7 separate regions of the Homo sapiens genome follow, and all the other regions are linked to region 2. Evidence: promoter capture Hi-C in 16 types of primary human blood cells and fetal thymus (Javierre and others, 2016). All regions are on one chromosome and are shown on one strand. Each heading gives the region's core, a stretch centred on a gene start or on the middle of the fragment in contact. The rest is flanking DNA. Distances are from core to core; before and after follow the strand shown. Region 1 overlaps SSBP2 (single stranded DNA binding protein 2). Region 2 holds the start of ATG10 (autophagy related 10). Region 3 overlaps SSBP2 (single stranded DNA binding protein 2). Region 4 overlaps SSBP2 (single stranded DNA binding protein 2). Region 5 overlaps SSBP2 (single stranded DNA binding protein 2). Region 6 overlaps SSBP2 (single stranded DNA binding protein 2). Region 7 overlaps SSBP2 (single stranded DNA binding protein 2).

Region 1 (2,848 bases), core at 68-2,567, 390 kb after region 2:
GGGAGGCTGAGGTGGGTGGGTCACCTGAGGTCAGGAGTTCGAGATCAGCCTGGCCAACATGACGAAAGCCCATCTCTACTAAAAATACAAAAATTAGCTGAGCATGGTGGTGCACGCCTGTAATCCCAGCTACTCGGGAGGCAGAGGCAAGAAAATTGCTTGAACTGGGGAGGTGGAGTTTGTAGTGAGCCAAGATTGCACCACTGCACTCCATCCTGCGTGATGCAGCAAGACTCCGTCTCAAAAAGAAAAAATAAAAGAAGACAGTAATCTCTCTGATTATGTTTACTATCAAGTTTCAGCAATTATTGAAGATTTTTCTTCAGATTTTTATCATTATTATATCTTCTATAAATGAAAAGTACATATTATAAAGTTAATTTTACTGTGTAGTAGCAAATCTAATATAAAAATTGAGTACATATGCATTAGGTTCAATATGAACTGTTTTCAGGAGAATGAATGCTTTCTTTTTGTGAATTTATGAGAATAATTATTGAACTAGTAATTTCTTAAATTTTTAAAATGGAAATCTGTCATCCTTTGTATCCTGAATTCTTAAAAGCATGAATTTCATAAAAATAAAGAAAACATAGTCTTGTTAAATACTTTATTTATTTTACTTTTAGTATTTCTTTAAAGTTCGTTAAAGAGAAAAATAACAGCAGCTCATAGATGTCAACCCCAAACAAAGATGAATGCTTTTATTTTGTAAAGATGGCTTTTCTTAGACAAAACAACCAGAGCTTTAATCTAATACTTAGACAAACTGAGCTTCTATACCAAGGGAAAAGCTATTTACTTTAAGGCTCAGTTTGTTAAAAAGGCTTTTGAAAAACTGAGTGAAAGGAAAAGGACTTAGCTGAGTTACAATTTGATTACTATCAATAAGGACATTTTTATATTTTTTAATATAGTAAGCTTTAAATCTAAATTTCTGAATGTTTTTATATTTTTAGTTAGAATTATGGTTAGAATTTATAGTTAGAATAAAGTTTGAACCAATCAAGACATTTCTTTTTGAAGCAATTATGTGACCTTTTCATCTTTTAAATATAATTTTTCTGTGCATATCCTTGCTTAAATTGAGACAGTCAAGTGGGAAATTTTGAGGAGACAGAACACAGAGCCTCCATTAGGAGAACAAGACTATTCTTCCTAGTTTTTTTCTGCAAAATATAAAATACACTTTATCTCATAAACTCATATACTTTAATCATTGTACTATGCTTAATTTTAGGCAATAAGGAGCTACAACTGATAGATTCTCCCAGCAAAAACATTTTCATTTGTCTTCTATGAGAAACAGTTACCATTTTTTCTCTACTGTTTTTAAAAGGTTGAAATGGAATTTTTCAACTTAGAGTTATTCTTGTTCTTACTGGATCTTTCCTCTTGGCTCTGCAGGTTTCTGTTAACATGATACAGCCTTCACAAAATTGTAAGGTATAAAGTAACAGATTTTTAGAGCTAACAGTGACTTTTCGGATCACCTAGTCAAACACCTCCATTCTACATTTAACCCAAATGCCGCTCAAGCCTTCTATCCATCCTGTCGCCTCTTTAGTATTCTTCATGTCCTCAGGGATTATATGCTCATGGTTATTCCCAGTTTAGCATTTCTGGCCTTAAGGGACTCGATCTTACTTACAGCATACCTTGCCCACTGTTCTTCTTCTCTATGTTCCTGGCAGAGCAGGCAATAAAAGCTTGAATTGTAATTAATTGTTGCCTATCAGTTACCAGACCATTAGTATGCTTATAGAACCAGAGTAGTAGACTGTTTATTTGACCTATGAAACCTGCACTTTTACGTAACTTTCTCTTGGATTCTTTGATGCTGTCATTAGAAAAGCAGAATATTTTGTATTTGGCCTATATTTTTTCCTTTATTGTAGATCTGAGATTTTTCGTGGTCTAAAGACCTCCATAATGAACATAATTATATTGAAGATTATCTTTAATCATCTTACGCCTGAAGAATAAGGTACTGGGATCATAGTGGAACTAGAAGCTGAGCACTTTGAAATCAGCATTTGGTGTTAACATATGGTGTCATTGTATGTCCTTGCCTTCTATTAGCAAATCATTTTTTTTTTTTTTACCTACACTGAAATTTTTTAGGAATATTCCAGTTAAAATGTTTTCCCTTATAAGTACCTTGACATTGAACAGATATATACTTAATGTAATGTACTAGGCCTGACTGTATGAGGACTGATAATAAGGTATGTCTCTTTCATACAGAAATGATCTACTAGGGTCAAATAATAATTTTAACACAAGGCAGATAAAAGCAATAAAACCTGGGAATATAAACATCGGGGTTGGGTGACTTTTCCCAACCAAAATTAAGATTTATAGTTTAAACTTAGAACTAACATAGAAAACCAGTATTATTTTCATTCATATTGGATATCTTTTGGCTGAGTTGTCATTTGGTTGAGTTGAATTTGGAGTTAACATGGATTCTCCACTGTCAAGGATATAACCACTGTGATTCTGTTTCTTCTACCCACGAGTACAGGGGTACTACCCCTGTTTTTTTCTCAAACAGGTCAATACCATCTAATTGCTATACAGTTAGATTGATATCTCTGAAAGTTTTTTGAACAGTAGTTAATAATTTCTATAGTTCTGCCTTAATAGTTTGCCTCCTAAAGTCCATAAATTAATAGAAATACAGGAATTTTTATTCTACAGGAAAGCCCCTTTCACCAACCACTCCCATTCCTCACAGTTCACATTTTCAAACCAGAAACCAGGAGATGGTAATTTTTGTTTTATGGAACCTTTCTGCAAGGCCCATTGAAATAGTTTGTTTCATTAATACATTAAATATTACCTA
Region 2 (2,908 bases), core at 69-2,568:
CTGGCCAATATGGTGAAACCCCGTCTCTACTAAACTTACAAAAATTAGCTGAGCGTGGTGGCGGGCACCTGTAGTCCCAGCAACTCGGGAGGCTGAGGCAGGAGAATTGCTTTAACCCGAGAGGCAGAGGTTGCAGTGAGCCGAGATCGTGCCACTGCACTCCAGCCTGGGCGACAGAGCAAGACTCTGTCTCAAAAAAAAGAAAAGAAAAATGGCTAATATCCTACAAGGCACTAAAACTACAACCTTTAGGAGTACTGTATTTTTTTCTCTCCCACTCAGAAATAATTTGCATCTCCATTAATGAAAAAGATGTTAACTACAAAGCCTAGGCCCTAATCAATATCATCATGCCAAACAAAATATAGTCCCCTAGACATCTAAATCATCTTCAGGTGGGCCTGTTAGGCTCCATTTTGACTCTGAAAAAAACATGCTGTCCTTTTGCCTTATTTCCAATACTTTTGTAATTTTTACCGCCACTAAAAGTTTCTATAAATCAGTCAACTATTCCTTTATCATTCTCCGGTCCTCCCCGCCAATTCTTGATTTTATAGGTTTTTTGGGAGGTTTAAAAAAAAAAGAAAGACCTGTTGGCTCTAAATATCAAGTTATTCCTCCTGATACTTAATCTGAAACTTCAAATTAAGTTGGACTCAGCCACTGGAAGCCCCAGTAATTTAATACTGTTTCAACCAAAGATTTGCTATCAGTATGTGGATTTTAAACACAAAGTAGTTACTACCCACTTCGAGGGTGCTTTGGGTACTGGGCCAGGTGTGCTGGTGACACCGTGTGCGCGACGGGGACCGGGTCCCCGAGGAGGGAGTGTCCTCGCCCTTCCCCGCTCGCGGCGGCCAGCACAGGCCTGCAGTTACCGGCGGGGACCCGCTTCCCCGGCCTTTTGTTCAGGACTGGGCTGTTTCCCGCCTACCCGCGCGTGCCCTTCCTCCCTGTCCTAGGAGTGGGGCAAGGACCGTGTGGGAAGCAGAGCCGGGAGGAGACAACCGGCAAGGGCTGTGGGGAATACTCACCCCTCTCCGCTCGGCCCCTGACCCCGCAGCCCAGCCCGGCGAGGGCGGGGCGACGGGGCCAGGGGGAGGAGAGCTGGGGAGAGGGACCCAGCGCCCTGCGAGGCCACTGCCGCGCCGGTGACCCTACGGAACTGAATGATGGGACTGCGGGGGCCTCGAGGGCGGAGGAAGAGCCGAGCCAGCGCGCCCCGAGGCCAACCAGAAGTGGCCGTGGCCTCCTTCAGTCAGGTCCGCGGCCTCCTTCAGTCAGGTCCGCCACGGCCGAGTCGGAGCGTGCGCACTGCGCCTTCCCGCGCCGTGGGGGCCGCCTAGCGCAGGCCGGTGACGTGATCGGCCGCGCGCTCTGGGCAGGGCGGGGCTGAGACCCAGGCCGGGACTGGGAGCGGGTGGAGAGGAGGGAAGCGAGACCTCCCCGCCGCCCGCGACCACCCCCGCCAAGGCCCCGCCCCTCGCCTGGCGGGCAGCTCTCCCCCGCCAACCCCCACCTCCAACCCAACGCAGGCGGTGCCCTCCGCGGAGCACAAAGGCGGCTCGTTGACGGGGGAGCGGGTTACTAGCATCCCCCTAAGAGGTTGGGGAACCATGCCAGCATGCTTACGCTACAAAAAGTCCTGTAAACACCACAATTAAGCACAAGCACGGCTACCCCTTGAAAACTTACGGATGGAGGGAGAAGTTAGGAATTCGAATATTGACAATAGTACCATCTGTGGCACATATCCCAGAGGAGAAAAAAAAAAAACTAGCAGCAAAATTAAATTGGGGCGAAACGATGGGGATAAAGACTAGAAAAAATGTAGGAGTAACAGGGGTAATCGAACTGAAATAGCAGACATCTGAAAGAAAACTAGCATCTGCTCCTTCTAACAACAGAGTTAAATTTGTTGGAAATGAAAGGAGAAAATGCAGGCGAAGAAGTGAAAGGAAAACCTGCCTTCAAACTACATGACATAGTTTTTTGATCTTGTACTACAGTTGTGTAAGATGTCACCATTGGAGGAAACTAGGTGATAGGTACACGGGACTCTAGGTGCTGTAGTATTTTTGCAATTTCCTGTGTCTATAATTATTTCCAAATAATAAGTGTTTTTAAAAGGAGAGAATACTGATCAGTGGCGACCAGGGCAAAGGGCTGGAGGAAGGGGGTGACTGAAAAGGAGCTTGAGAGCTTCTATACCGTGATTGTGTTGGTGACTAAACCACTGTTTGACAAAACCCATAAGAGGTATAAATTTTACTGCATGTGAAATAGTTTAAAACTCAAAATGATGCGACTAATAAAAATGAACTTACACTAACATTTTTTAGCAACTATGGATATAAATTAATTGGTAGCTGCCAATTTAGATTATCCATTTAATTTTTTTAAAAGCACAAGGCAGTGTGTTCTGAATGAGAGCTTAAGTAGACCAGGTGTCTCCATCAACTTTAAGTATTTACCTTAAAAACGTATTTCACAGATGAAAACAAGAATGCGGCTGGGCGCAGTGGCTCACGCCTGTAATCCCAGCACTTTGGGAGCCCGAGGTAGGAGGATCGCTTTAGCCCAGGAGTTCAAGACCAGCTATGGGCAAGGCAGTGAGACCTCATCTCTACAAAAATTTTTCAAAATAACAATAAATTTTTAAAAAAAGAATGCATTGCTTTACATTGTACTCCATATTTTAGAAACACAGTGCACCAACCACCATGTTAATTTAAAAAAAATTTTTTTTGCACTGGAGGTGTTTTAAAGTTTCATAATTCACATGCCAAAAACAAAGAAACTAAAAGAAATAACTCAGTTAACCTCCATGTACTTCCTCTCATCATATCCCTCATGGCAAAGAATGATATTGGCCTGTTTATGTGTTTACCCTACAACACTATAAACT
Region 3 (2,981 bases), core at 479-2,978, 460 kb after region 2:
AAAGTTCTGTGATGACCTGGATGAGAGAGCCATTAAATCTGCCTGAGTTGGAGATAAGAGTAGATTGGAAAACATTGTCCACCAAAATAAGCAGAGGAATTACATTTCAGAAAGTCAGAATAGTATAAACAAAAGCGTGACTGCATCAAAATGATCTGTGCAGAGGTGTTCAGAGTAATACATACAGAAGGTAGTGGGGAGGGTAGGCAGGAGTTCCAAGACATAAAATTGAAAAGATATGCTATAGCATGGCACATGTTAAGAACCTGAGTATTCAGTAGGAGCCATCAGAGATCTTTAGGAAGGGCAATGACCTGAATTCATACTAAACGGTGGATTCAGGCTCTGGTAGGCACCTGTGAGAGAGTTGTATACAAAATCCCTGCCCTCGAGAAGCCCTACAATGTGATGAATGAGAGAAGAGGCCATTACAGCATAGAAAGAAAATGGCTGTAGTGTGCTCTTAGAGCAAATCAGAAGGCCACCAAACCGAATCTTGGGAGGTGCATAGTTAGGAAAGTATTGTCAAAATAGTAAATGAAATCCAATTTCGCATTTAAGGATGAGTTATGACTTAGGCAAAGGAAGAGAGGGGAAGAAATTTCTAGGAAGAGGGAAAATAATTTACAGAGATCCAGAGGGAAAAGGAGAGAGAGAGAGACCAAGAAAAACTGGAGCTTAATTAGCTAAAGGGAGAGTAGCTGGTGATGAAGCTTGAGAGGGACTGCAGGGGCCTTGTAGGTTAGTAGAGTTTGAACTTGATCCTAAAGGCAGTACTAAACTACTGGAGGATTTTAAGCAGGAGACAGACATGTTCATATTTGCATTTTTAGAAAAATCACTCCAGCTCCATTGTGTAGTCAGAATTGCAGAGGAACAAGTCTGAAGATAGGGAGAGAATTTAGGAGTCTTTTACAGTACTCCAAGTGAATTTTTTTTTTTTTTGAGATGGAGTTTCGCTGTTGTTGCCCAGGCTGAGTGCAGTGGCGTGATCTCGGCTCACCGCAACCTCCGCCTTCTGGGTTCAAGCGAGTCTCCTGCCACAGCCTCCTGAGTAGCTGGGATTACAGGCATGTGCCACCACGCCCGGCTAATTTTTGTATTTTTAGTAGAGACAGGGTTTCCCCCTGTTGGTCAGACTGGTCTTGAACTCCTGACTTCATTATCTGCCCGCCTTGGCCTCCCAAAGTGCTGGGATTACAAGCGTGAGCCACTGTGCCCAGCCTACTCCAAGTAAAATTTAATGGTGGCCTTAACTAAGATAGTGGGATGGTAAGTATGGGGAGATAAGAAGTAGATTTGAGAGACAGAAATAAATGCAGGATATTGCAAAATAAGGGAATTCAAGGATAATAATTCTAGTTTCTGGCTCTAATCTGGGCAGATGTAGGTACCATTTTCTAAGCTAGAGAACACAAAATGGGGAATAGGTTTGAGGTGGGACAGATGAGGTTCCCATGAGTCCTCCAATTAGACATATCTGTTAAGCTGATAGACCTGTCCTAGGTTTGAGGTCTAGGACAGTAATCTAAACTAGAGATAAAAATTGCAGGGCCATATCATTTTAAGGGTACTTGAATCCACAGGGGTAGATGAATTGTCCAGGGAGAAAGTACAGAATGAGAGGGTAAGAGAATATACAACTGAACTACAAAAAACACTAATATTTAAAAGATGAACAAAAGAAGAACCCATTACAGATGCAGTGTTAGTAGGTTGGCTATGATAGCAGCTTAAGGAAGAGACTTTCTGAACTGATTCAAGATCAGTGGCAGTAGAATTAGAAAGGAATAAACAGTTCATAGTTATGTTTGATAGGCCTTAATTAACCAAAGTTAAGGTAGAAGAGAAAGAGAAGAATCAAGGATGATTCTGAGATTTCTACTTTGGGTCTCTGGATAAGTTTAGTGTCTTTATCTGAGTAATGAAAGACAGGAGATTGAAAAACTTTCAGATATATTTGAATTTGATACACAAGTCATTTCTGTTTATCTAGGCAGACTATTTCAACTAATCCCAAGTACTTTTTTCCTCTATTCAACATTTAAATATGTCTCCCTATAAATGACTCTCTAAAATATTAAAAAACTCAAAGTACCAAAAATTTAAAAAAGACATATTATATTATTATCTTTTGGTACATATAATGATGTGATCAAATGACTCAAGTGTGTCCTAAATATCAGCATTGGTTTCCTGCAGTTACTGAACTAGTGTGATTCTGGTCATAATGTCAAAATACATATAGTTAATGAGGAGTAGCTGCTTTCCATGGGTAGAAATAGCAGCAGACAATCATAATTCAAGTTCACACCCCAGTTTCTAATCTAGTTCCAAAGAGATGTTGACCTTCAAGAATGATCCAAATCTGGAGAACCTGTGTTGGAGTATCAGTTCACAGTTCATAAACTCTAATACCCAAGATCAGGCACAATCCTGATTATTAGTTCAGTACAAGGCAAGGAGGAATGGAAGCAACTGGAAAAGAGCTGATGTGGCTCCTTAAAGTAACAAGGCCCAGAAGGCTGGCTAGGATAAAGACTCAGATTCTCCAAAAAGCCAGACTTGGATATTAGGGAATTCCTGGTTCAAAAGAGACTTAGTCAAAAGGGTGCTAAATAGTTTTTCCAGCCTCTCCTGGTTGCAACTACTAAATTCTGAAGGGTGGTTACCTCCTATTGCCTTTGACTTTTAGATAATGATAATATTTTAAACTTATATTCTTAGTAAATGCAAAGCTTATTTTGAGATAGCTTGAATGGACTAGACCGAAAAAGAATTTAGCCTATTAGAATTAGTGAATAAGTAAAAGTAAAGAAGAATAATTTATAATTAGCAAATGAAGTCCCCGCCTAAGTATTTCTGAGCTCTACTTACTTTGTGATCATACTCTAAAAAATACATTGAAACATTTCTCCTAAATAGACAAACATACTCCTTTTTTTCCTGTTTATGTTACAGAACAAGCTCCCTCTTCCATG
Region 4 (2,778 bases), core at 218-2,717, 350 kb after region 2:
CTGAGGCCTCCCCAGCCATGCTGAACTGTGAGTCAGTTAAACCTCATTCCTTTATAAATTACCCAGTCTCAGGTATGTCTTTATTAGCAGCTTGAGAGCAGACAAGTACACCTTTTTTTTTTTTCTTTTTTTGAGACAGGGTCACCCAGGCTGGAGTGCAGTGGCACAATCATAGCTCGCTGCAGCCTCCATCTCCCGGGCTTAAGTGATCCTCCCACCTAAGCCTCCTGAGTAGCTGGGACTAAAGGAGCATATCACCATGCCCAGCTACTTTTTCATATTTTTTTGTAGCGATGAGGTTTTGCTGTTGTTGCTCAGGCTGGTCTCAAACTCCTGGGATCGAGACTCACTCGCCTCTGCTTCTGCCTGCCAAAGTGCTGGGATTACAGGCATGAGCCACCACAACCAGCCTATACCTCATTTTTATTTAACAAAATAAAAATATAGAGCACCTTTTAAAGTGACTTTGGTCCCCTGTATTTATATCCTGAAATCAAATATATATAACATTGTAGAGAAAATAAAATATAAGATTATTCTAAGAATTCTGTTTCTTTCACCTGGTGGTGGAAAGTCCAATCTTGTAGTATGCTAGCACTCTAATTATTTTAGAACCTAATGAATAATATCAGGTATAGCTAAGAATAACCAAATACCCACAGGAAAACAAGTGCAATGGCATTAGTTAGCTCACTAGAATGGTATAATATTTATAATTGGCTTACTGGTTTTTACTCATCTGGTATGTCTTTCCTATAACAGGCAAGGTATAATAACTATTTGAGTTGGGTTAAACTAAGCATCGTATAAGACAGTGTAGGTGACAACGGGGCTAGAAGGAGGAGGCTGATAAGAGTGAGAAGGGAGAAAAAGTGTTAGCAAGAGAGAAGGCAAAAAACATAGGCCATAGAGAACAAAACTAAAATTCAGCATGGGAGAAGAGGAAAGGCATGTGGAATACAGAGGAAAATTTGGTGGGGAGAGAACATTGTAAAAAACGGAGGGAATCTTCATTAAATGTAAAGGACTCAAAAGAAAAATGAGGCAAATGTTACTCAAGTTAATTAGAAAACTTTTTATTTCGCTATACTAGCTATATGAGACTTTTTCTATAATATTTTTAGTACCTTTAAGCTTCTTTTAAAATTACTTTTGCGTATGTCATCTCTTTGTCTCTGTATAAAACACTGTAAAATACATAACATTTATTTTCTCTTTTTACATAAATCAAAAAACTATTTGCCCAAGGTCAAATTTAGAGTTAGAATTCAAGTTCCTGAATTGTAACCAGTGCTCATCTCAGTAACACATATTTCTTAATCACAGAGCTCAATTCAGTGTCCCACTATTAATAAGTCATTAATTACATTTCCCATTTGAGCATTGTGAGTGGCTAATTCCAGGCAGTGTATATAAATGGGACTCAAAAGTTTTCTCTTCTGAGTCATGTCTATATTGAGGCATCCACGGATCCCTGGCAGCTGCATGTAGGGTGAGGGGGTGGTTGCCATAGGATATTCAGGAAATGAGTTGGTGCATGGGGTCAAAGGTAGGCTAACAATGTGCTTGCTGTCTTATCTGGTACAGATATCCATCCCACTCTTATAATAGCTGATGCTGCTCAGACTGCTGGAACTGTAGAAACCTGCCCATAATCAGAATAAGGAGTCTTGCATTAAGAACTCTTAAAACCACACTCACGTTAGAAACAAAATAACGTAATAATTAAAAGGCTCAAGCCCAGCTCTGCCACTGTGTGACTTTAGGCAAATTATTTAATCTAATTTAACCTAAGCTTCAGTTCCTTCATCTACAAAGTGGGGATAATAATTAGAAGGATTAGATGTTGAATATGTGATACTTCGTATATGATGCTTGTATAGTACTTACTCAATAATGGTAACTATCTTCATTATATTTTAAAATAGAAATTGATTTCTAATCCAGGAGTATTGTGAGAATTTTATAAAAGTGAAGCAAAATTTAATGCTTTCATTTTTAAAGGTATTAAGTAATGCTAGGGAATAATATTAATACAAGTTATACATATGGGGAAGTTCTAAGATGAAGAACAGGTACATACACATTTCATGTGAAACTGTTTTTGGTCTTATGAATGGATAGGATAGTTTTCTTAAACAGAGATTGTCAGTAACTAACATTCATTGATATATTTTTGGGACAAAGACAAATGACTTCCTTAGTTATTAAGACTTGAGCTTATAACAACGTGGCTTGTTCCTCAGAAAAAATGTTTTCCATGGCGTTTTATTGTTTTGTTCTGTCTTTTAAAAAATTTTTGTTGTCGGGTAGTCCTAGATCTGGCCAGTGGCATAAGTTGTATAATTATGTTAGCATTCCATCTTCTGGGACACATCTGGCATGTTTATTCACCCTTGTAGACTTCTCTGACAACCATTTTGCTTTCTGTGTTCCCTTGAGATATTAACAAGCTACCTAAGTCATTTCAACTTACATTCTCAGGAATAGAGGGAGATACAGTGTTTGGTTGAGAATCTTCAACTTGGGAATGCCGTATTTTCTCTTGATTTATGAGGGGAAGATTTTAATAATAATAAATGATATGAGATCAAAGACTTCAATACTTTGTAAGTTTTGCTTCTCTGTATTCAGTCTGTGTCTTCATTTGTAAAATATAAAATTTTCACTTGTTTCTGCTTGGGAATAAAGAGTGTATAAAACTCTAAAGTATTATTCATGATGATGAACCCATTACATTTCAAGGATAATATTTGCTTTCATGTTTAATAGTTGTAG
Region 5 (2,796 bases), core at 167-2,666, 270 kb after region 2:
TGTGCACAATGTGCAGGTTAGTTACATATGTATACATGTGCCATGCTGGTGTGCTGCACCCATTCCCTCTGGACCTCCTTGGATAACCTGATGTGCTTTTCCTGTCTCAGGGAATCACTATTCCAATGCCCGATTTTGAGTGTCCATCTAACAAGCACTGCAGACTGTAGCTCAGGCTGCCTGAGCTCTGGAGATCTTCCTGGGTTGCTGGCACTGTCTGTGTGTCCTGTAATACCATGACTGATATATGTTGTATTCATGGCTGAATATCTTCAAAATAACTTGTGTATTCTCAAAGCTTACTTTAAAATCTAATTTTTAATTTCAATTAAGTTATTTAATTAATTAGAAAAGGCTATGTAAACACTAAAGGTTTTTATAATTTAATAGGCAAACTGCTTTACCATTTAATCCTTGATTAAATATTGAACCACTTTAGCAAAGTAGCCACCACACAAAGAATACTGAATAAGATATGGGCAAAAAGGAATAAAAAGAATAAAACAGACAAAAATCCCTCATTAAAATGACCAACTTGTCTGTTGTAGATAGTGGGGAATGTGTGTAATATCTGCTCTTATTCCCAGTTGTTGGAGCTTGAGTACATTAAGATTGAGCCACAGCATGAGAAATCAGAGTTCTTTTACTGTGCTGTAGTTCAATATAAGGCTTGATTGGCAACTTAGTGTAGGTCACAGATCTCTTAGCTGGCTAAAGGCAATGAAGATACTATGTAGCTCTTCAGGGGGACATAGTGGAAAGTGGCAAAAATAAATCTCAATTTTATCCCCCTAAAATAAAATGACAGAAAAATGTAGGGACCCAGTTTAAACTGGCATTTGGATTCTCTGAAATAGGGATTCTTTCTATTGGGATTGAGCACTAGCAGAGAGCTCACACTCAAATGTCTGGATGAAAGTGTAAAATTGAGAAGTTCAGTTTCAAAAAAAAATAGCATTCCTGCATTTTTTCAGAACTTATGGCATTGTGTTTCATATACTTTGTATTTTCCGATGCCTATTTTGGAGCTTCCATTATTTTGTTTCTATTGCTTTGCATGAGAGCCCTTATATAAGTGAGATTGAGTAGTAGGCAGATTCTATCTATAGCTTTTGTCCTCTTCTAAATATTACAGAATTTGTTTGTTTGTTTGTTTGTTTTTTTGAGATGGGAGTCTCGCTCTGTTGCCAGACTGGAGTGCAGTGGCACCATCTTGGCTCACTGGAACCTCTGACTCCTGGGTTCAAGCGATTCCCCTGCCTCAGCCTCCTGAGTAGCTGGGACTACAGGTGTGCGCCACCACGCCCAGCTAATTTTTCGTATTTTAGTAGAGACGTGGTTTCATCATGTTGGCCAGGCTGGTCTTGATCTCCTGACCTCGTGATCTACCCGCCTCGGCCTCCCAAAGTGCTGGGATTACAGGCGTGAGCTGCCGTGCCTGGCCGAATCTTTTTTTTAATTAAAAAAATTACAATAGTGATTTCTTTCAGTGTGTACCTTATTAGTCCCATATAACTTTGTTTCAGATAATCCCTATTAATGATACAGTTAAACATACATTTTAATAATCTGTGAAAACATTAATGCAATATTTTCTAAACTTTTCATTAACTACTATGTATTAATAAATTGGCATCGTTGGTTAACAGGGTTCTGAGGTCAGATAGGTTTATGGTATGGTGCATACTTATATCTCTTCTTAGAGATTTATAATGTACATTATAATGTCAAAGACTCAGAGTTGCTGAAGTAAATAATTATGTTCAGTCCAGGAGTTTCTTTAGGTGCCAAGGATGGAACAAAGTGACAAAGATGTCTATTCCTTTAGTGCTTTTGTATTTTGGAGGGCTTGTTTTGGTACAACTAAAATAAAAGGCCTTATAAAATTAGCCTACTCAAAATGTTCTCATTTTATTTGAGACATCTTTAGTGGGATAATTTAGCATGGTGCTTGGCACATAGTACAGGTGCACCTTGTTTTATTGTGCTCCACTTTATTATACTCAGTAGACAATATTATTTTTTACAAATTGAAGGTTTGTGGCCACCCTGCATAGAGCAAGTCTGTTGGTATTATTTTACCAAGGACATGGGCTCACTTTGTGTCTCCACATCACATTTTGGTAATTTTTCTTCTATTTCAAACTTTTTATTATTATTATATCTATTATGAGGTTCTATGATCAGTGATCTTTGATGCTACTGTTGAAATTGTTTTGGGATGCCACAAACCTCACCCACAGGAGATGGAGAATATAATTGATAAATGTTGTGTGTGTTCTCACTGCTCCACCAAACAGCTGTTTCCCATCTCTCTTCCTGTCTCTGAGACATGAAAGTATTACAATTAGGCCAATTAATAACCTACAATGGCCTCTAAGTGTTCAAGTGAAAGGAAGAATCATATGTCTTTTGCTTTAAATCAAAAGCTAGAAACGATTAAGCCTAATGAAGAAGACATGTCAAAAGCCAAGATAGACTGAAAGCTAGGCCCCTTGTGCCAAACAGCCAAGTTGAATGCAAAGAAAAGCTTCCTAAAGGAAATTAAAAGGGCTACTCCAGTGAACACACAAATGACAAGAAAGTAGAATAGCTTTATGGTCAATACGGAGAAAGTTTGAGTGGTTTGGTTAGAAGATATGGCCACAACATTCCCTTAAACCAAAGCCAAATCCAGAGGGAGATCCTAACTCTTCAGTTTGTGAAGACTAGGAGGCAAGGAAGTTGCAGAAGAAAATTTTGAAGCTAGCAGAGGTTGGTTCATGAGGTGTAAGGAAAGAACCCGTCTCCATAATA
Region 6 (2,782 bases), core at 34-2,533, 480 kb after region 2:
AACAGTGCCTTTGTGGGTGTTTAATAAATATTTGATGAGCAGGACATGATGGTTCATACCTGTAATTCCAGCACTTTGGGAAGTCAAGGCAGGATAATCACTTGAGCCCAGGAGTTTGAGACCAGCCTGGGCAGCAGAGCGAGCACCCATCTCTACAATTTTATTTTATTTTTTTTTTTGAGATGGAGTCTCACCCTGCCACCCAGGCTGGAATGCAATGGCATGGTCTTGGCTCACTGCAACCCCGGCCTCCCAGGTTCAAGCAATTCTCCTGCCTCAGCCTCCCAAGTAGCTGGGACTACAGGCACATGCCACCACATCTGGCTAATTTTTTGTATTTTTTACTAGAGATAGGGTTTCACTATGTTGGCCAGGATGGCCTTGAACTGCTGACGTCATGATCCGCCCACCTTGGCCTCCCAAAGTGTTGGGATTACAGGTGTGAGTCACCACGTCCGGCCTGCAATTTTTTTTTTTAATACCCAGGTGTGGTGTTGTGTACCACACCTGTAGTCCCAGCTACTCAGGAGGCTGAGGTGGAAGGATTACTTGAGCCTGGGAGGTTGAGGCTGCAGGGAGCCATGATCATGGCACTGCACTCCAGCCTGGACAATGGAGCAAGACCCTGTTAATCTATCTATCTATCTATCTATCTATCTATCTATCTATCTATCTATCTATCTGTTTTGTTCATTCAAATATATATATGTTTTTGATATATATATGTTTTTGAATATATATATATGTTTTTGAATGAACAAATTTCTACCATACTTTCTCATTGTTAAGTGTAGCTTTTTTATTCTCCTAATTGACCTTTAATCTGACACAACAAAGAGGACTGTTGTGTTGTGGGATATTTAATCTTTAGGTTTTTCTTTTTCTCTATGAAGCATGGTAATAATTTTCTTTAGCTCCTTGATGAAAATGGTTTGTGCCTTAGGAACATATGCCTTTATCCCCACTCCCTGCCTCACCCACACACACTTCAAATATTTATAGCTATCTACATTATACTAATCTTTATATTTAAATGTAATACTAAAAATAATTAACACAGAATCATTGGTTCCTTATTTTAAAAGGGACTTTAGAAGTCACCTGGTTTAACTCTCTCATTTTAAGGTTGAGAAAACTAAAGCCCTGAAAGATGATTAGCTCAGGGACACTGCTAATTAATAGAGGTACAGAAACTAAAACCCAGGTCTTTGACTCCCAGTCAAATGTTATTTCCACACACATTACAAATAATCCTTTCTGGGGAAGGCTTTTTTCCAGTTAAAACACTGATTCACCATCATGATACCTTCAAACAAGTATTTGTTACTCAAACTTAAAAAAAAAAAAGAATGTTGCCCCAAACATAAAGAGTAAACACATTTTAAGAGCCAAACACTCTTTTCTGCCTGTTTTTTTGTTTCGTTTTGTTTTGAGAAAGAGTCTTGCTCTGTCACCCAGGCTGAAGTGCAGTGGCGTGATCTCCGTTCACTGCAACCTCCGCCTCCTGGGTTCAAGCGATTCTCCTCCCTCAGCCTCCCAAGTAGCTGGGATTACAGGCGTGTGCCACCAAGCCCAGCTAATTTTTTGTATTTTTAGTAGAGATGGGGTTTCGTCATGTTGCCCAGGCTGGTCTCAAACTCCTGGCCTCAAGTGGTCTGCCCACCTCGGCCTCCCAAAGTGCTGGGATTACAGGCATGAGCCACCTCGCCCAGCCCAAAGACTCTTGAAGAACCTATTCTTCTCAGATTGCTAAAGCAGGGAATACTGACATGTCTGTCAATAGATATAATTTATATTAGCATAATCTCTTGGACAGATTAGCATTTTACCATAAAATAATTAAAATTGGGGTTAACATTTTGAATTTCATTTGAAAGCAAATTGACTTCTGAATAGTGAAGTACAGATACTAGTGCAGATTATTCTCAGTTGCTAGTATGCAAACGCTTTTAGATTCTGTTGCTGTGTCTACGCAAGCTAATTCACTAGGCAGTTGAGGACTTAGGTGGTTATCTAGATAACATAAGGGAAGGATCAATCTGAATACTAAGCCATGTTATAACAGCACTAATTTTGTGTTAAAAATACTTTAACCATAGTAATCTTATATTTCAGGTAAAAGTAGTAGTTTTTAGCTATATTAACCGATTGTTTTGTCTTTTTGTGCTTTAATTGTGTGAAGATTAGAGTTTATAAGTGGTTTTCTATTTCTTTTTTTTTGGCCTCCAAAAAAACATACAAATTTGAACTTAAAGGAGGACATATAAGAGTAATAAATTGACTAAAAACAGAATCTGTCTCTTTCTCTTGATCTCATTTTGTAGTAACCTGCAGGTTCCCAGCTAGCACATACACTGACCCTCCCTCACAGCAGCTCCTTCACAGGGCCTCAGTCAGGTAGGAGGGTATAGACAGTTCCATTAACATACACTCATTCACAATGCCATCCATTTGGGGAAAAAAAATTCTCCTTTTACATATACCACTAAATAAACACTGTATCATCTTCTTACATTCAGATCAACACGCAGATCTCAAGTGTTCTTCTGTTTCAAGTGAGGCACTTCTAAATATTTATCTCAACATTTGGTATTTAGTAATATTTTTCACATAATTTTACCTTGTATTCTACTTCAAAGTGGTTGTATTACAGACAAAAATTATTAGTAACCTATTTTTATGTCTCCATGTTTCAAAAACTAAATTGATACTATATTTTGAATTAATGACTATGTCATAAAACATCATTTTGTAAAAGACAGCCATTATAAAACCAATGACA
Region 7 (2,718 bases), core at 34-2,533, 410 kb after region 2:
TGAAGAGAATAAGGTGTAGGAAAGCGTAGAGGTGGGAAAATAAGCACTGAGGTGGCTTTCTATCCGTGTCTGTCTAAAATAATACTTCTGCTATGTACCTTGCTAAAACACCCACTTTCCCTACAAACTGATTCTGAGCTTCTTCCAAGGATTATTTTTCCTTGTTTTGGCATGAAAAGCTTAAGCTCTTACTACCTTTTCTTTTTTTTTCCTGCAACCCTTTGGCAGTACAGAGTTTATAGCCACAGGACTGTTCCTATCTAAATAGAGAGCAATGCAGTGAAATTTTAAAAAGGCTTCTGATTGTTAATTTGAAGGACTTGATATTTTAAGACCAGTGAAAGTTACCTATACTCTTGAAATTTGAACACAATCTTTTTTGTAAAATTGGAAATGACATGAGAATCTAGCAGCATGACTCTTTTTTTCCTAACCAAGTAAGAAGTGTTATACAATTAATCGTGGCACATAGTAAACAGCGCAATTGATATTCTGTTGTATTCTGTTATTTAATATAGTTTAAGTTAAAGTTTATTTTTCTGGGGAAGCAATCATATTTTTCAGTTTTTGATTGTGAGAATTATATTGTGTATGTTGAAATCACAAAATAATTGAATGAAATTATGTATTTACTCAGTATAGTTTTGCTTAATAAGTAAATTAAAAGCTTATTTAATAATTTTAGATTACTTATGGACAAATAAAACTAGACTTCTGATGCCTTATGTAATACTCTATCAGAATAGATTATATTATGCTAAATCACTGTTTTTTTAGTTTTTTTGACGTTTAAGATTTTGACAGTTGCTTTATGTAATGACATTTTTATGGAATAAAAATGGCTTAAATATGTACAAGACCAAATTATTACTGTAGTCATATGTATTAAAATGAAGGATATGTTTTAGAAATGTGGTTAAATGATACTTTTATAAGAAGGCAAATTAATTATAAAGTTCAATAACTCACATAATTTAAGGTAGAAACCTGCTACTGGTTTGCAGTTCATTTCTATTATTTGTTTCTTATAATATTATAAATAATTTTTTTTCCTTTTTTGTGATGGAATCTCACTCTGTTGCCAGGCTGGAGCGCCATGGTGCAACCTCAGCCTCCTGGGTTCAAGTTATTCTCCTGCCTCAGCCTCCCAAATAGCTGGGACTACAGGCATGTGCCACCATGCCCAGCTAATTTTTTTTTTTTTTTTTTTTTGATGAAATCTCGCTCTGTCAACCAGGCTGGAGTGCAATGGCGCAGTCTCGGCTCACTGCAACCTCCGCTTCCCGGGTTCCAGCAATTCTCCTGACACAGCCTCCTGAATAGCTGGGATTACAGGCACGGCCCACCACGCCCGGCTGATTTTTTGTATTTTTAGTAGAGATGGGGTTTCACCATGTTGGTCAGGCTGGTCTCGAACTCCTGACCTCATGATCCACCTGCCTTGGCCTCTCAAAGTGCTGGGATTACAGGCGTGAGCACCGCACCCAGCTAATTTTTGTATTTTTAGTAGAGATGGGATTTCGCCATGTTGGCCAGACTGGCCTCGATCTCTTGACCTCGTGATCCACCTACCTTGGCCTCCCAAAGTGGTAGGATTACAGGCGTGAGCCACTGCGCCCGGCCTATAAATAATTTTTAAAAACATCTTTCTAATCATGCTGAGGAAGATACTTCTTAGATGTTCCTCTGATAAGTCTAGGCATTATGACACTGTTTAAGAGATCAGATGTTCTATTCTGACAAGCCATAGTAAATATAGACAGTACTACTCTTTTGTATGATAAATATTTTTGCTTTGACAATTAATTTGTCCTGGAACCTTATGTCAAAGAGATAGGAAAGAAAGTAAAAGACATCTTAGAAGAGATAGAAAGCAAAATACAAGTTTAACCAAGCTTTTATATTCAAACATGCAGGTTGTTCTGATTTCCTGAAGAATAAAAGAATACCACTATGTTTAGACAAGTCATGTTAGTTAGGAAAAGGATAGTTCATCTTGAGGCATTGATGACACAACTTTAGTTTAGACATGCAAAATTTTACATTTTGCCAACATTCATCTATTAATGTTCATATTTATTCATGTTCATATTTATTCAAGTAGCACCTACTGTGCCAGGACTGCACCAGGTGTTAGGAATATAAAATATCTCTCTCTGTTCTCTGTCGTGTGAGGATACAATAGGAAGATAGCCATCTGCAAACCAGGAAGTGTGTCCTCACCAGACACCAGATCTGCCAGCACCTTGATCTTGGACTTCATAGCCTCCAGAACTGACAGAAATAAATGTTTATTGTTTAAGCCACCCAGTTTTTGTTAATTTGTGATAGCCACCCAGACTAAGACATGTAGCAACAGTATGGAGAAAGAGGTATATTTTGAGAAAACAACCAGGTAAGTGATTTCAATGAAGTATGAGAGGTGCTTTTATTTAGGGAAAGCACAGGGTACTGTAACAGTATATGGCAGAAGGAATGCAAAACCTCGTAATTCACAGGGTATTGGATAGTATACTTAGAAGGGCCTTGCTACATGGAATACTTACTCCATGCTGCTTGAGTGCCATCTAAGAAATCTTAAAAGCAAGAATCAAAAGGTTCAAACAATTTTTAAGTAATTTGGCTGTGTCCCAGAACAAAGCTCAAGAATATATATAGAAATGTAAATCCAGCACCCAACAAAGTAAAATTCATAATGTCTGGATTTCAATCAGACAT

What was found. The method cuts DNA at HindIII sites, captures the fragments that hold promoters and counts their contacts. A CHiCAGO score of 5 or more calls a contact.
Region 1: a fragment that was not itself captured here is called in contact with the fragment with the promoter of ATG10 in region 2 in 1 of 17 cell types (total B cells); the score reaches 5.0 in total B cells.
Region 3: a fragment that was not itself captured here is called in contact with the fragment with the promoter of ATG10 in region 2 in 14 of 17 cell types (non-activated CD4 T cells, fetal thymus, naive CD4 T cells and 11 more); the score reaches 11.4 in non-activated CD4 T cells.
Region 4: a fragment that was not itself captured here is called in contact with the fragment with the promoter of ATG10 in region 2 in 3 of 17 cell types (non-activated CD4 T cells, total B cells and fetal thymus); the score reaches 6.1 in non-activated CD4 T cells.
Region 5: a contact is called between a fragment that was not itself captured here and the fragment with the promoter of ATG10 in region 2, in 1 of 17 cell types (total CD8 T cells). The highest score is 5.3, in total CD8 T cells.
Region 6: a fragment that was not itself captured here is called in contact with the fragment with the promoter of ATG10 in region 2 in 14 of 17 cell types (total B cells, fetal thymus, naive CD4 T cells and 11 more); the score reaches 10.9 in total B cells.
Region 7: a fragment that was not itself captured here is called in contact with the fragment with the promoter of ATG10 in region 2 in 5 of 17 cell types (naive B cells, naive CD8 T cells, naive CD4 T cells and 2 more); the score reaches 7.3 in naive B cells.

What each region holds. Positions count from the first base shown.
Region 1 is chr5:81,580,006-81,582,853 of GRCh38, reverse strand. The region is part of intron 4 of SSBP2 (single stranded DNA binding protein 2); the gene reads left to right. Among named protein-coding and RNA genes, the nearest start is that of SSBP2, 170 kb to the left of the region's middle. The HindIII fragment of the contact is 788 bases long and covers 924-1,711 here.
Region 2 is chr5:81,970,433-81,973,340 of GRCh38, reverse strand. It overlaps ATG10 (autophagy related 10), which reads right to left and starts at 1,318. Exons shown (of 8, transcript NM_031482.5): 1 at 1,035-1,318. RefSeq lists silencers at 918-1,157, 1,328-1,657 and enhancers at 672-1,227, 1,228-1,785. The HindIII fragment of the contact is 10,147 bases long and covers 1-2,908 here.
Region 3 is chr5:81,508,725-81,511,705 of GRCh38, reverse strand. All of the region lies in intron 5 of SSBP2 (single stranded DNA binding protein 2), which reads left to right. Among named protein-coding and RNA genes, the nearest start is that of ACOT12, 120 kb to the right of the region's middle. The HindIII fragment of the contact is 2,025 bases long and covers 716-2,740 here.
Region 4 is chr5:81,625,409-81,628,186 of GRCh38, reverse strand. The region is part of intron 3 of SSBP2 (single stranded DNA binding protein 2); the gene reads left to right. Among named protein-coding and RNA genes, the nearest start is that of SSBP2, 120 kb to the left of the region's middle. The HindIII fragment of the contact is 661 bases long and covers 1,137-1,797 here.
Region 5 is chr5:81,700,739-81,703,534 of GRCh38, reverse strand. The region is part of intron 1 of SSBP2 (single stranded DNA binding protein 2); the gene reads left to right. Among named protein-coding and RNA genes, the nearest start is that of SSBP2, 49 kb to the left of the region's middle. The HindIII fragment of the contact is 2,232 bases long and covers 301-2,532 here.
Region 6 is chr5:81,491,153-81,493,934 of GRCh38, reverse strand. The region is part of intron 5 of SSBP2 (single stranded DNA binding protein 2); the gene reads left to right. Among named protein-coding and RNA genes, the nearest start is that of ACOT12, 98 kb to the right of the region's middle. The HindIII fragment of the contact is 3,239 bases long and covers 1-2,782 here.
Region 7 is chr5:81,557,879-81,560,596 of GRCh38, reverse strand. The region is part of intron 4 of SSBP2 (single stranded DNA binding protein 2); the gene reads left to right. Among named protein-coding and RNA genes, the nearest start is that of ACOT12, 170 kb to the right of the region's middle. The HindIII fragment of the contact is 1,228 bases long and covers 670-1,897 here.